Regions from separate parts of the Homo sapiens genome. Here all the other regions are linked to region 1. The links are contacts of gene promoters, found by promoter capture Hi-C in blood cells and fetal thymus (Javierre and others, 2016). All regions are on one chromosome and are shown on one strand. The core of a region is centred on a gene start or on the middle of the fragment in contact, and the rest is flanking DNA. Distances in the headings are between cores, read along the strand shown.

What was found. The method cuts DNA at HindIII sites, captures the fragments that hold promoters and counts their contacts. A CHiCAGO score of 5 or more calls a contact.
Region 2: a contact is called between a fragment that was not itself captured here and the fragment with the promoter of GRK5 in region 1, in 2 of 17 cell types (M0 macrophages and M1 macrophages). The highest score is 7.2, in M0 macrophages.
Region 3: a contact is called between a fragment that was not itself captured here and the fragment with the promoter of GRK5 in region 1, in 17 of 17 cell types (M0 macrophages, M1 macrophages, total B cells and 14 more). The highest score is 24.0, in M0 macrophages.
Region 4: a fragment that was not itself captured here is called in contact with the fragment with the promoter of GRK5 in region 1 in 8 of 17 cell types (endothelial precursors, total B cells, M1 macrophages and 5 more); the score reaches 10.8 in endothelial precursors.

What each region holds. Positions count from the first base shown.
Region 1 is chr10:119,205,923-119,209,594 of GRCh38, forward strand. GRK5 (G protein-coupled receptor kinase 5) reads left to right here and starts at 1,649. Exons shown (of 16, transcript NM_005308.3): 1 at 1,649-2,047. The coding sequence starts at 1,996. It overlaps GRK5-IT1 (GRK5 intronic transcript 1), which reads left to right and starts at 2,499. Exons shown (of 2, transcript NR_186528.1): 1 at 2,499-2,728. RefSeq lists enhancers at 156-235, 346-395, 416-525 and silencers at 866-1,695, 1,906-1,975, 2,026-2,075. The HindIII fragment of the contact is 5,116 bases long and covers 1-3,672 here.
Region 2 is chr10:119,429,598-119,433,269 of GRCh38, forward strand. It overlaps GRK5 (G protein-coupled receptor kinase 5), which reads left to right. Exons shown (of 16, transcript NM_005308.3): 7 at 778-841; 8 at 1,790-1,930. Among named protein-coding and RNA genes, the nearest start is that of MIR4681, 53 kb to the left of the region's middle. The HindIII fragment of the contact is 2,426 bases long and covers 512-2,937 here.
Region 3 is chr10:119,409,253-119,412,924 of GRCh38, forward strand. All of the region lies in intron 4 of GRK5 (G protein-coupled receptor kinase 5), which reads left to right. Among named protein-coding and RNA genes, the nearest start is that of MIR4681, 33 kb to the left of the region's middle. The HindIII fragment of the contact is 468 bases long and covers 1,823-2,290 here.
Region 4 is chr10:119,355,960-119,359,631 of GRCh38, forward strand. All of the region lies in intron 2 of GRK5 (G protein-coupled receptor kinase 5), which reads left to right. Among named protein-coding and RNA genes, the nearest start is that of GRK5-AS1, 18 kb to the left of the region's middle. The HindIII fragment of the contact is 1,444 bases long and covers 1,267-2,710 here.

The DNA of each region.
Region 1 (3,672 bases), core at 399-2,898:
CTGAGAGAGATCCTTTCATTAAAGGTTAGGGCTCTAGGCACGTGAATATGTAGCAAAGACCAAGCCTGGATTGCTTAGAACAGTAATTCCTGGAGTGGTAAGTGCCTGAAAAGTTACCCGCTGAGCCCTCCGCCTTCTGACAGGTAAACTGTTGTTGCCCCCATTTTGCAGACAAGATAAATGAGGCCCTGGGAGACTCACTGACCCAAGTCTAGACACCAGGAAGTGGTGGTGGTGGGTATACTCCCCCAGGAAAGCAGGTAATCTTGGGTTGTTACAATCAGTGACCAGACCAGTTTCCAAGGCCTGGAAGGTTTATTGATTTCTTTATATTCTCCAATGCATAATAACTGTTCTCTGTTTCTCTCGGCACCTCCCTGCGACTTCCTGGCAGCCCTGGGGACAGAGGGTTTCCTCCTTCTGGACAGAGAAGGCCCAGAGTCGGCTTCTGAACGGATATCCGGCCCGCAGGATGCAGAGGAGGCAAAGGCCTCATTGTTCTTTGGGGCCTGCCTGCCCCGCCCCCAGCTGTAGGACACTCGTGGCAGATCCCGGGTGACCGAAGACAGCCCATTTCCAGGAGTGGGGCCTTCGGAGCGGAGGGAGCAAGGAAACGGGGCTGAGCACAGACCTGGAGTCTGATGTTCTGAGCATAACACTGGAAGGAGCTAAGAGCCCCAAAATAAATAAGACCGGAATTTAAAAACGTTAATCCCACGCCGGCTTGGCGCTGGCCTGGCTGTTACTCATTAACGCTCCCCACGGCGGAGACTCCGGCGACTCCGTCTGCGTTTTTATTACTTAATCTGGCTGGGTTTGGCTGCAGGGAGGCTCGTGGATTTGCTGGCCGGGTGTGCTGGAAGGCAGTTTATTCACAGAATAAGCAGCTTCCCACGCTGGACCCTGAGCCCCAGGCGCCGTCCGCGTAGACCCCGCGCCGCGCACCGCGGCCGGCGGGGGGCGCTCGGGTCGCACCGAGAGCAGCGCGGGCAGCCAGCGCCGGGTCGCAGCCGACCCGCAGAGCCCTTCGCGCCCTCCGAGGAAACAAAGTGCATCTTTGTCCGCGGCCCGAGGCGCCGCGTGGGAGACGCTGGGCAGGGGCCAGGCCGGGCCGGCCGCCGCCGCGTGCGGGGACCCTGGGCGCGCGTCACTGACCCGGGACTCAGACCCTCGCGGGCCTGGCGCGGACCGGAGGAAGCGGGCTGTGGCGCGCGGCCGAGCTGGCAGCCCTCCCACTCCGAGCACGGCTCGGGACCCGCACTGGCTCCTGCCGGGCCGCGGCGCTTCACGCGCCGTCACCGGGGCCCGTGCACTCCGCTTTCCGGGCTGGCGACGGGGCGGGAAGGGGGCAAGCGGGAGCCTGCGGGGGGGTGCTGGGGACTTCGGCTTGGCTGGGCCGCCTTTGAGTCGCCTGTCGGCCGGGCGGTGCCCGCCTTCGCTTTCGGTGCCGTCCCGGGGCGGGTCCTCGCTCCGACAGCCGCGCGCCAGCCCAGCTCAGCCCCGGCGCCGCGCGGCCGGGAGGACTCCAGCTCCCAGCAGGCCCCGCGCCGCGAGCACCGAGGCAGGAGGCGCGCCTGGGCCGGCGCTTGCGCAGTGCGGCCGCCCGAGCCTGCTAGTACCACACCCCCGGGAGGGACTGAGGGGAGGCAGAAGCATCCGAGGCATTAAAGCATCCGAGGGAGCCGGAGGGGAGGAGAATGGAGTGACAGAGACACGCGGAGGGTGGGGGGTGGGGGGGAGCGTGTTGAGGGAGGGGGGAGGGGGGACACAGAGGGAGGAAGAAGCGGCGGCGGCGGCGGCGGCGGCGGCGGCTCCTCTTTGCAGAGGGGGAAACTCTTGGGCTGAGAGCAGGAATAATGCGGTAGGCAAGGCGGGCTGCTGGCTCCCCCGGCTCCGGCAGCAGCGGCGGCAGCCCGAGCAGCGGCAGCAGCAGCGGCAGCACCCCAGGCGCTGACAGCCCCGCCGGCCGGCTCCGTTGCTGACCGCCGACTGTCAATGGAGCTGGAAAACATCGTGGCCAACACGGTCTTGCTGAAAGCCAGGGAAGGTAAGAGGCAGGGCCGGTACGTGCCCGGCGCGTCCGCCGCGGGCCAGGGTGCGGGTGTCGGGTGGCGTGCGGGCTGGGGCTGCGCCCGTGCAGGATGCCCGCTGCCGGCGAGTGGGTCGCGAGCAGGACACTTCGGAGAGCGGCTCTGCAGACCCTTCAGGGTTCCTGCCTTGGGGCTCAGAGAATCTGGACTTGGGCTGAGAAGGTTGCAGGGATTTGGATGCTAACATATCTCCTAGTTTCCAGCGCTCGCCCTGCAGAGCGTGCCATCTCGGCAGCTGTTGAAAGGTCAGTTGGAAAAGCATTCATTCGGGGAGCGACGAGCAAACATGCACATAAAATAGCGTTTCAAGTCGGCCCGGGATGGTTCTGTGTGAACTGGTGTGTGTGTTCGAGGGGCGGGGGTGGAATGAGCAGAAGCCAAGTCTTTGCCTGCGCAGGCTGAGTTGATATAGACTATTGCTGGAAACCATCCGCTGGGATGTTTCTTAGGGAAATCCCGTCGTGTGGAAGGAAGCCTTTTAAAGGCAAAGTCAGATGTTGAGGAATTAGCCTTTTCATAGAATTATCAAAGGATGGCTGTACAGACCACCTAGAAAATAATTCAGTATTTCAGGTTTTTCTTTTCTGGGAGTGTGATAACTGAAATTGTTAGATTTTGGCTCAGTTAAGAAAAGAAAGGTAAGTGTGCTGGTGCTTTAGATACGTTTTCTATGCAAATCATTAGATTTCCTGCATTTAGCTGGCAGGAAATATTGTCTAAATGGAGTGTGTAAGATCCTGAGTCAAACCCTAAGAACGCATATTTTGACTCTTCCTTTTGATGAAAAACAGAAAAAAGGGGGGGGAGGCAGAAACTTGGGTGCTTCCTGAAATGATTGTGTTGTGTCCATGTAAACATATGTATTTAGGAATACCTGGAATTTATGTCGCATATTTTCCTTTTTTTTTTCTGGTCAAGATTTGAGCTCTAGTGTGCGACCTTTTTCATAAAAGGGGAAGAGGTTTTTCCCTTTCACGGGAGAACGCTTTATTTGATACAAGGTAGAAGGCAGACTGAGTAAGGGCTTGAGTTTAGAAGGATACTCGGTGAGCAGCCCATGAAAATGTCTTACCTGCTTAATATTTTCATTCACCTACTTTGATGAATGAAGGGAAGAATTTCTGGCCAGCAATAAAACGATTCGTGTTTATTCAGCCCGTTCCATCACCTTGTGGCTCCCTACACACTGTGGGGGTAGGTGATGCATAGCCTTCCGTGGGCAGCGTTTCAGCAACTCAACCCGGCATTCGTGTCTTACTTTCGTCGTCACTTGTCACTCTAAAGCAGCCAGTGGGCAAGAAGGTTTATTTCAGAAGCCCCGAAGGGAGGCAGTGCTTTGAAAACCCCAGCAGAGTTTAAAATATTCAGGTTAGTCTCCCTCCCATTGCTTAGCTTTGGTGGGAATAAATTTTTAGGAGAGGCTTGTTACTTGGTGACTTCAGGTTCTAAGGCCTGAGCTGTGTGTGTGTGTGTGGTTTTTTTTTTTTTTTTTTTTTTTTTTTCCTAACCTGACATTTTTAGTGGACAGGATCTAGGTGGGTGCTGGTAGGCTCTCCTCTGGGTTGGGGAATGGTCCTGAAAG
Region 2 (3,672 bases), core at 475-2,974, 220 kb after region 1:
TCTGTCTGATTCAATGTCATAAATGGCTTTGGCTCATTAAAACGAGGAGTTGGAAGACGCGAGGTGATCATTACTTCCAATCCGATCTTGGCAGGCAGGATCTTCTCATGTTCCTCATCTATGTGGGAAATACAATAAAGGGTCCTCAGTGGTGGAAAGGTTGGGAACCAATGGTAAAGATCCCCAGGACACGATTTGAAGACCAGCAGCCTCTGCCCCCTCCTGAGGCCGGGTCTTCTGGGCCAGCAGCAGGAGTGCCCTCAGGAAGGAATAAGCCATGCCCAGGACAGGAAGCACTGTCATCCTGCTGGGCAGACTGAGATGCACAGGTGTAGGGAGGGCTGTGACCTCCTTCGCGTCCTTTGTGGGACGCTGGTCCTCTGTGGCTCCTGGCCCCCACCCCTTCCTGCACAGAAGGCACAGCTTCCTTCTGAGTTTCGCCGCATGATTTGCAGAGAGAGGAGAACCACATGGAGAGTGTGGTCAAGCACCTCTGCACTCAGGTTTTTCAAGCTTTCTGAGCAAGCGAGGCTTGTGCATCCCCCAGCTTGCAGGGGGCTGGGGGCTGGGGGCCAGGGGGCTTGGGATTTGAACACTCAGCTTCAGACTAAGTCCTCGAAGGTCCAGTCTCCAGCGATGATTCCTGGGGGGTCCCTGGGGCTGCTGTGGGGCTCCTGGAATTATACCCCACCCCAGCTGCTCTCAATGTGCCACTGTTTCCTGTGGATTCTGAGTCTTGGCACCATGAGACCAGTGTGGGATTCTTCTTTCTTCCAGGCAACCGGTGACCAAAAACACTTTCAGGCAGTATCGAGTGCTAGGAAAAGGGGGCTTCGGGGAGGTGAGTGAACATTCACGTTTTTAATTGAAAGTTCTTACATTCAAGTCACCTTTCCTGTCCCTTCTAAATCAACCTAAAGGGTTGGCCCACGGGTCCCCCGGGGGCACCAGTGGCTCAATGTGGGCCCCGGGGGCAGTGAGGGTGGGAGAGAGTCAGTGGCCTTGGGGCTATCAGGTGTGTCTATGGTGGAAAGAGGTTGTGGAGCTGGGCAGGTGAGACAGACGTGCTCTCCTGCCAGCCTCAGGCAGGATCCAGCCTGCAGAGGACAAATGGGCAGCCCTGGTCGTGTGTGGGGAGGAGATGTGAGGGCGTGAGGAGGCTGGGCAACCTTGGCCACTCAGTGCCTGGATGACGCTGTCATGCAAGATTCGAGATTTCGTTGTACATTACCCGATCTTCCCAGCATGTGAGGCAAGCCTTGTTATTCCCATTTTAGAGATGAGGAAAGCTGAGGTCCAGAATGGTTAGGTGACCCAGCCAAGGGCGCGCAGACAATGTGAGGCAGAGCTAAGACTTAAGCCCAAATGCTTTGGTTCCCGCTTATCTGGATTATGAAGTCAGTGTTCTTGAGGATCTCCTATCACTGCCTCCCAAAACAAACTTCTCTACCGGCAGCCGGTAGGAGAAAATCCTGTTGCCCTGGGAATGGAACGGTACTTGGGGCCCCAGTCAGTTATCTAAGCCTTGGTGTGAGTGGCTCATTCTGCCCCTTCCAGGGCTGGGAATCCTTGAAGGAGAGGAGGAGGGAGGGCAAGGGCCCAGGACAGCTGTGGGCCCCAGGCCAGGCATCACTGGGTCCTGGGAGCCTGGAGCACTCATGAAGCCAGGCAGGGCCGGCTCTGACCCCATCCATTCTCTACCTGGGAGGCCTGTGGTCCCCGCCCTGGAGGAGCTCGGGGCAGGCCTCCACGGTGCTCCTGCCACCCTGGTTTCTTTCTTGCACTGCAGGTCTGTGCCTGCCAGGTTCGGGCCACGGGTAAAATGTATGCCTGCAAGCGCTTGGAGAAGAAGAGGATCAAAAAGAGGAAAGGGGAGTCCATGGCCCTCAATGAGAAGCAGATCCTCGAGAAGGTCAACAGTCAGTTTGTGGTGAGTGAGCATCTGGGCCCAGTGACCGGCTCGCCCTTCTGTGGACTGGGGCTTCCCTCCCTCCGGAAGGGCGTGGTCCTCTAATGCGGCCGGTCCCCACCCCTGGGAAGGGGAATGCCAGTGGCAGCGCTGAGCTACAGAAAGGCCGCAAGACATTCCTCCATCACACGGCCCATTGTGGTCGACTGTGGCTGGCTTTGTCCCATCCCCAGAGCCGGCCAGTGCCTGGCTCCCTGCTGTGCATGAGACCGACGCCTCTGTTCTCCTGGACCACTTTGTAAACTCCTCAGTGGACAAAGAAAGTTCACCTGGGCCCAGGCTGGGAGCTGTGGGTTCCACAGACCCTCTAGGCTGGTGCCATCGTGGTGGGGACCTTAGTGCCAGCATCCTGGAATGGCACTATCAAGTCTGTGTGCATTGTGTTAGTCAGTCTAGGCTGGGCCCTGCTGCAGTAACACATTTGCCCCAAACCCTAAGTAGCTAAATACAGCAGAGGTTCATCTGTCACTCACCTGAAGTCCAATCAGATTGGGCCACCCTCCTCCATCTAACAGCTGCCCCATCTGGAGCCTTGAAAGTGAGTGCTAGGGGTTCCACACAGAGACTTTCCACTGCCTCTACTGGACAGATGTTCCTCAGTTTCACCCACAGTCTGCCAGCCAGAACCAGTCAACACAGAGACAAGTTAGTTTCAGGGGAGGCTGGGAAATGTGAAGTGCATGGATATTTGGTCAGCTCTAATATCTTCTGCTACACACTGTTATAAAAAATAAAGCTGGGTGCAGTGGTACATGCTTGTAGTCCCAGCTACTCAGAAGGCTGAGGCAGGAGGATTGCTTGAACCCAGGATTTCGAGGCTGCAGTGAACTATGATCGTGCCACTGCACCCCAGCCTGGGTGACACAGCAAGACCTCATCTCTAAAACTAAATACATGCATACATTAAAAATAATATATACACAAGGTAAAAATTTAAACAGCACAGAAGGATACACAATAAAACGAAAAGCTTCCCTCTTTGAGTAATCACTCCAGGCATGTTTTATTCATGCACAGGCTTTATTATTCTTAGCCAATGGGATCTTCCTGTACCTCTTATGGAGGAATGTTTTTCCCTTACATTGTAGATCTTTTTCTCCATCCAGACCTCTAGTCACACCCCTTTTTAAAGTTGGGCATCATTCTCCTGAAGAGATAAAGCATAATCCATATAGTCAGTCCCCATGGATGGAAATTGTTTTCCATCTTTAAACCACTACAGGGCCGGGCACGGTGGCTCACGCCTGTAATCTCAGCACTTTGGGAGGTCGAGGCAGACAGATCACTTGAGATCAGGAGTTCAAGATCAACCTGGCCAACATGGCAAAACCCCATTTCTACTAAAAATACAAAAATTACCTGGGCATGGTGGTGGGCGCCTGTAATTCCAGCTACTTGGGAGGCTGAGGCATGAGAATCACTTGAACCTGGGAGGCAGAGATTGCAGTGAGCTGAGATCATGCCACTGCACTCCAGCCTGGGTGACAGAGTGAGACTTTGTTAAAAACAAAACAAAACAAACAAACAAAACCACTACAGACCAGTGGCACTCCCAGAGGATGGAAGTTTGCATCTTGGGATCTCATCCCAGGCCACCCCCAGCTGCCAGCCTTGTCGGGGGTGCAGGTGTGGGCAGTGCCATGGTATGTGGAGATGAGGCAGATGAGGCTAACTTCAGCCATCATTTCAGCTGCGGGCCTTCT
Region 3 (3,672 bases), core at 807-3,306, 200 kb after region 1:
CAACCTTTCCTGGAAAACAAATTGTCTTTGCCCACAGCCTGATTTCATCTTGGCGCCTCCTGACGCCCTTGAGGCTGATGTGCCTTGCTGGAGCTCCTCACAGTGGGCCAGGGCAGGCCCATCTAGGTCCTTTTTCCTTTCTCATGACCATCCAGGTCAGAAAATTGGAGGTTCCTTTGATGCTGGCAGAGCTGGCTCTGCCTCTGACCCTGTCCTTAATGTGTGTGCATAGTGTTTCCTGTCCAGAATGCCTCTCTTTTGGAGTGGCGGCAGACAGAAGACTCAGCCACAGGCTTCCTGAGGGCACCCCCAACTCTGTCCTGGGTGGCAGTGATCCTGGTCCCTGTGGCTTGGCAGGCCCTCCCCATCCGTGGACCTTGGGCAGAGAAGTGGCATCACGTGGCTGAGGTGAGGGGCAGGTTCTCTTGAATTTCCTGGCTCGTAGGAGATTCCTGCCCCCTGCCCCCCAACCCCTTTATTTTGCAGCCCGAAGGGATGAAGTCTTCACTGGAGAAAAATCCAACATGATTTCGGATTGAGGAGGGTGGTGGGTGTTCTGGAAGAAGGAAAGTTGGCGGGCCCTGCCCTCGCCTATCACGCACAAAGAATGAGGGACACTCCCCACCGTTTCCCCACCGTGAACATCCCCAGCACCTCAGGGCCTGGGCTCCATGTGTCAGTGACCTGCATGTGGTTGCATTGGCCTGAGCGGAGCTGGCTGCATGCAAACCACTGGCCAGGAAGAATCCCACTCCTGCTGCTGCTCCTGCAGCTGCGCCGGGTCCCGCGAGCCCCCGCGTGCGCGGCCTGTGTAAACAGTGCGTCATCTCCTGTTGCACACTTTGGGCCTGCGGGTCACGACCAGGGATTATCAAATTGACAGAGCTCAGCTGGCCTCTCACTCCACGTCCGGGCACATTGCATTTTGTTAATTATCGTCTTTTGCTTTTGACGTAAAGGGTCGGGGTCTGGGTCAGGGTCACTGTGTATTTTCCTTTCCTTCTCATTAAAGTTGCCCAGCTCTCAGGGCCCCCAGTTAAATTCTGCCAGCGTTTAAAGATATCTTCCCTCGCTTCCCGACCCCTAAGCGCACTTCTTCCTTATTTCTGTGAAGCCACTGGAATAGCAAAGGAAATGTGGGTCAGGGTCTTTCAAACCCAGTCCATTTTATTTTTCTTGAAGGGCTGCAGCTATTTCTGAAGGGCTGGGTTTTTCTACTTTGTTGGCCCAGAGAACATGACACGCTGGGTCTCAGGCTGACCAGGTCAGCAGGGCACTGTGAAGGGGCTGGAACCACCCCCGACGCTTTGCAGCCCCAAGGCAAGGCTTGCTCCCAGCACTTCCCAGCCACACGGCCCTCACTTGGTTGCTCATAGCCCTGAGCCTGCTGTCTGCCTGTGATCCTCAGTGCAACCCTACCATCTGAAAGGGGTCTAGAAAAGTGTCAGTTCTGCCATTAGGAAAAGTGAATTCATCCAGAGCTCTAGTCTTGGAAGAGTTCCTAGCGCACAAATGGCATGAGCTGGAGGATAGAAGGGTCCTCCCTATTGCCTGGCTAAACCCCCTTTACCCTTTGGGCCATGATCAAACCTCTCCACAGCCGTGGAGCCACCTGTGTCTAAAGAGGCCACCTCTGTGAGCGCTCTCTCCTAGGTGCTGAGGGGCTGTGACCTGCACTCTACAGCCTGCAGTCCTTGCTGACCTTGAACTCCTGCCATTGGCCAACAGAGTTGGTCTCTGGGGTCCTTAGGGTGGACCTCATGGCCTGGGCACAGAATGGGCACTCAGGGAACCCGTATGGCTGATGGACCCCAGCTGAAGAAGCTTTCCGACTGGTCACTGGAGCAGTGGCCCCACCTCCACCTCTGCTCACAAAGACAGCTCCCATGCCTTGAAGTCTCTTCCTGGCCTGGTGGAAAACCCAGCTACCCTCATGGTCACCACCAAAGAGGTACAAGAGATCCTCAGCCAAAGAATTAAGGAGGTTGCAAGAGTGGTGGTGTGTGTCTGCACCATGATGGAGTCACAGGCCTTTCGTGGATGCTGGTTACTTCTGAACACTGTGTCATGGTGTCACTCCCACTTTCTCCTCCGCCAGACACACAAGACTCCAGAGAGCCCAGAGACCCCTTAGACTCTAGGTCTTTGGACTGTTCACCAAGGAAAGATAAAAATGGCAGACTGGATGCCATCTTCCTAAAGGCATCATGGCCTCTGGAAGGGCCCTGGAGAGGCCCCTTTGAGAGTTGGAGACAAGGGAAGATCCAGAGTTTCTTTGAGGGGGGACTGAAGCTTAAATAACTTGCTGAGCATGCTTTTTAAGAAAAAGAATAGGAGGTTAGGTACAAAAGTGAATATTGAGAAGGAGAAAAGAAATCACAACAAATTACTGAGGGCTTGGAGATTCATATCCTTTTCATCTGTGACCTCAATTTCCCGGAAGTGCTTCTGTAGAAATGCTCTGTCTCCCAAGATAGAGCATTCTGTAGCTCCCAGGACTACAAATAAAGGACTACTCCGTCTCAATTAACAAACAAACAAACAAAACCCTAAAGCTTCGGCCTCCTCAGCTTCATTGCAGATCTGCTTCTTTTTTTTTTTTTTTTTTTTTTTTTTGAGATAGAGTCTTGCTCTGTCGCCCAGTCTGGGGTCCAGTGGTGCGATCTCGGCTCACAGCAACCTCCACCTCCTGGAGTCAAGCAATCCTCTCGCCTCAGCCTCCTGCATAGCTGGGACTATAGGCATACACCACCACGCCTGGCTAATTTTTGTATTTTTAGTAGAGACGGGGTTTCATCATGTTGGCCAGGCTGGTCTCGAACTCCTGACCTCAGGTGATCCACCTCCCTCGGCCTCCCAAAGTGCTGGGATTCCAGGCGTGAGCCACTGCGCCCGGCCTCAGATCCGCTTCTGATTGGAGGCTGTGCCCACCTTCATGGGAAACGGTGAGCATCACCTTCCTTTGAACTCAAAAGAGGCACAGTGAGAGCCTTCCAGCCTCGATCACAAGGACCTCTACCCACAGGCTGCCGGTCCGGTGTGTCTCTGCCTGGCAGGGCTGTGCCTGGCACGGTGCCCGGGCCGTGCAGTCCATCGCCTGGGCTGACCACGAGGACACCCCGGTGAAGAGCTGGGCGTGCTTGGGCCGAGGGCTGCTGGATGTTGGCATCAGGCCCAGGGTGGAGGGAGGGACAGGCCACGAGCCCGCACAGCTCGTGAGCGTGTGGCCGGACTGATTTATTTTTCTCCCCAGTGACCCCGAAAACCAAACCCTGCCTTCTTTCCTTTGGTCTGTTCTTGTCTGGGGCTTGTGGATCACGTCTCCTGCCTGGCCATGGACAGAGAAAGGAACCACTCCAGACGGACGTGAGGGTGTGTGGCAGTGGCTTTTCCACATGGCCCTGAAGGTTTTGATTAAAAAGGTGGAAGAATGGTGCTTTTTCTTCCTGTCAGCCAGGCCTTAAATCAACCCTCAAGTGAGGAAATGCTCTCTGCGCCTGCTGCTCAGCAAACCTTTTTCTCTGGTTGTGACCGTATGAGCATGTTTAATTGCAAGCCAGGGTTTAGGGTTGGAACAGCCCCCATTCGCCCCACCACCCTCTGCTTTCCCCACCCCAGACCCCGTCGCTGCAGCTGGGTGAGCAGGGCTGAGTGAGCTCAGGGAATCGGAGC
Region 4 (3,672 bases), core at 739-3,238, 150 kb after region 1:
TAGTTATTTTTTCACTCTAAGATAACTCAAGATAGAAACTTTTAAATCTAGAGAGCTGATAAAGTAAGATAATAATACATTCTGCAGGCCTAAGAACCCTGATCTGGAGGATCAAGACTGGGTCATGCATACATTGCATTAGACAGCGACACCTAATGAACAACAATGGTATTACAACCCAGCTCTATGAAACCAGGGACTAGCAAGAGTAAATGCTGTATTCAGACTAAAGGACATAGATAAGAGCACATTCTGTCAGGCAGAGTATTTCATTATTTGATATTCTTAGACAAAACAAATTCTCAGGGTGTGGAGGGCAATTTACAAAATATATAATGACAGTTCATTTGCTTAGACCTTCTTCCTTAGTTAAGTTGAATGTTAGTGGTCCATCAGGGAATCTGGAGCATAGAGTAGAATCACAATCACCTTGGACTTATAAGAAATAATTCAAAGACTTTATAGAATCAGTCTCTAGTCCCAGAATTTTATGTTTTTACCATGTTCGTGGCTCATGCTTTCTTGATTTCTGGCATCCTGTCTGATTTCTGAGTTTGGGCTAGCTAGAGTCTTGTTTGTCTATCTTCTTGATGCCCAATAAGATCAGCCCCTTTACTGTGCCTGGATTTCTATATCCAGCATTACCTAAATCCAACTTTACACAGGCTTTGGGCTCTTCCAGTTCCTCTTCTGCCCTTTAACCCCATGTGTGCCCCAGAACCATCCACAAGGAGATGCCAAGAATAGAGAAGATGAACAACAACAACAACAAAACAGAACTGCAGCCCTTCTGTATGCTTCAGTCTCTAGCAGGCTCAGCCCAAGCCACTACCGATCCCTTTTCTCACAAGTTTTCAATGCAATCTACAGGAGGCTTTGTATTCTCATATAGGAACCCTTCTCAAAACTGATAAAACGATAAAGGCTTTGCTTTACTAAAATTTGCTGTGCCAGCCCTCTCTTTAGCAACTGACCAGTGCTGAGCTATCTCATGCTACCTCTATGGCATTGTCAAAGAAGGCAGGGAATGTCTTTGCCCACCAAAGAACAGCATGTGTGTGAGGCCCATGCTAGGGAAGAAAAAATTCTTAACAAAGTGAGGTGTGAAGGTGGCTGGGGGCCAACTGGACCCTGGAGCCCAAGCGAAGTGAAGTGATGCCAGATGCCTTGCCCTATCAAAGTAATGAAAGTGATCTGGAAATGGTGTTTTTTCTCATTTTAATGACAGAGCAGGGCTGGGTAAGGAATAACTGTAAGTGCAGATGAAGCTTGTTTATGCTCCAAAGATAAAGTCACAAATGGGGGGTAGGGTGGGCTGTGGCCTTCCCTTGCTCTAGGCAAATTCCCTCAGCACTAGAGAAGGTGCCTTCCAAAGGGCCTGTGTTGTGTCTGCAGTTCTGTTCCCAGGGAAGTGGAAGCTGAGGCACCTGTGGTAAAGCCCCTCATGGGAGCGGGGGTCAGGGAGATGTTTGGAAAGGCTGTGGCTGATAATGAGACGCGGGTAACCCTGGTGGATATCGTTCCATCCTGGTGCGTGCCTTCCTGGTTGCCTCCTGCTGCCTGCTCCTGGGGAGTGGAGTGGGGGAAGCATTAGTCTGGATTGTTGTTGGCTTGGTTGCCTTCCAGAGGCCTGCATCCAGGTGCCAGGGAAATTCTGACTGAAGTCCATTCAACAATAGCAATAGCGGCTCACACTCAGGCCTGCTGGCCCCACCATTGACAGCTTTGCATGAGCTTCTTTCCATGCAAGAGGGCTGTCCCCAGGTTCACTCCCCACTTCTTGTTCTGCTGCCTGCATTCTTGGCCACGTAGTTAAGTCTCCCTCCCTTTGTGCCCCCTTTATGTCTCTGGTCTTCTCCAACATTAGCCATGCCATTGGCAGGGTGGGGGTGGGTGGTGGGGCACGCTTCCTGACTCGGATGCCTTGACCCCACAGGGACTGAGTTTTGGACAAGGTGCAGCGGCAGCCTCCCAAGCCAGGGGTGGGCAGCGTCTGCTGAGCAGATCCTGGTCCTCTCGGGGTGGCTGCATCAATCACACCCAAAGGGGAGAGGCCTCAGTATGGAAAGTATGTGAGCCTTGGATGGAATCACGGATGGCCCGAAATGGCTTGGCCCCTTGTTTCTAAGGCCCCGGCTGGTTTCCCCATTGTGCAGTGGGGAGGGAGAAAGGGGCCAGCTTGCCTGAGTTCCTGGAGCACGAGTGAGAGTCCCTGAGCCACAGGTAGGTGAGGGCAAGGGTGGCAGTGTTTTGGGGTGTCCACGCAGCATGCATGGCTGGTCCTAGCTCGGATGTTGTCTGACAGTCACCCATGAGGAACAGGAGTCCCTCCCATTACTCAGCCAAGGGCACAGAGTGATTATGCCCGGGGTGTAGCAAATGCTCTGCAAATAGTAGCTGCTCTGACCATGTGATTTGACTGGCATTGCCCAGATGCTGAGTGGTGGTGCCAGGATTGGACCTGTATCCATCTCATGCCTCCACCCAGGCCCTCCACCCGGCAGCCTGGCCGCCTTCTCCTGGTCCTGGTCCCCTTGCCCCCAGGAATTGAGGCGTGCATGGTGCATTTCCATCTCCCAAATCATGGTCCTGTCTGTGCCCTCATCTGCTCCTCTTCCACAGGCCTCTCAGGGAGGCAGGCAGGGCAGAGTCAGCAGCCCCATTTTAGAGACCAGGAAACTAAGGCCCAGGGATTCCTCAGAGGTCACCAAGCTTGTAAATGGCAGCACTGAGCCTCAAGCCTTGCTCTTTGGATCATCCACTTTGTATTAGTCTGCTCAGGCTGCTATGACAAAATACCACAGAGTGGGCGGCTTAGACAACAGGTATTTCTTTCCTCACAGTTCTGGGGGCCACAGTTCAAGATCCAGGTGCCTCAGGGCTGGCTTCTGCCCTTGCTGGTTTGTAGATCCACTGTCTTCCTGTTATGTCCTTGCCCGGCCTTTCCTCTGAGCTCTCTGGTGTCTCTTCCTCTCCTCCTAAGGACACCAGCCCTATCAGTTAGGGCCCCACCCTGAAGAATTCATTTAACCTTAATTACCTCCCCAAAGCCCCACCCCCAAATATAGTCACATTGGGGGTTAGGGCTTCAACATATGAATTTGGGGACAACACAGTTCAGTTCATAACACACCCTGAGCCCCCTCCACTGTTTGGAGTCCCCTAGGTCACACCAGGGGGGTTGCTGGTGCTGTGCATCAGAGGAGCCATTTGGAGAGACTGTGCCAGAGGCCAGGGGTGGGGCTGGGGCAATCCAGGAAGGCTTCCTGGAGGAGATGTGTGTACACACGAGAGGGCTTGGGGGCAGTACATGCCCTTACGGGGGCCTATTTCAGGGAACCCCACATGTAATCCACACCAGTAACTCAGATGAGCTGTAGCTGTTTTCCAGGAGCCACTTTCTCTCCATGGTTATGGCAAGAGGGGAGCCTCCGGGTCCTGCGTGGCCCAGCAAGGCAGCTGTGGGTTGATGCAGCAAAGCAGGTTGTGTTTCCAGGTCATTCGTGTGGAAGGGAATGGGATCCCAGGTGGGCAGGGCCAGGCAACAAAGGCCAGAAATCGAGCTGAGCACCCACGAAGCCTTCCTCAGAGCAAAGACCTGCAGAGGGGACCACTGCATGTGGCAGCTGCCCCAGATGCTGTGGCCCTGGCTGCTGTGGGAGGGTAATTTTT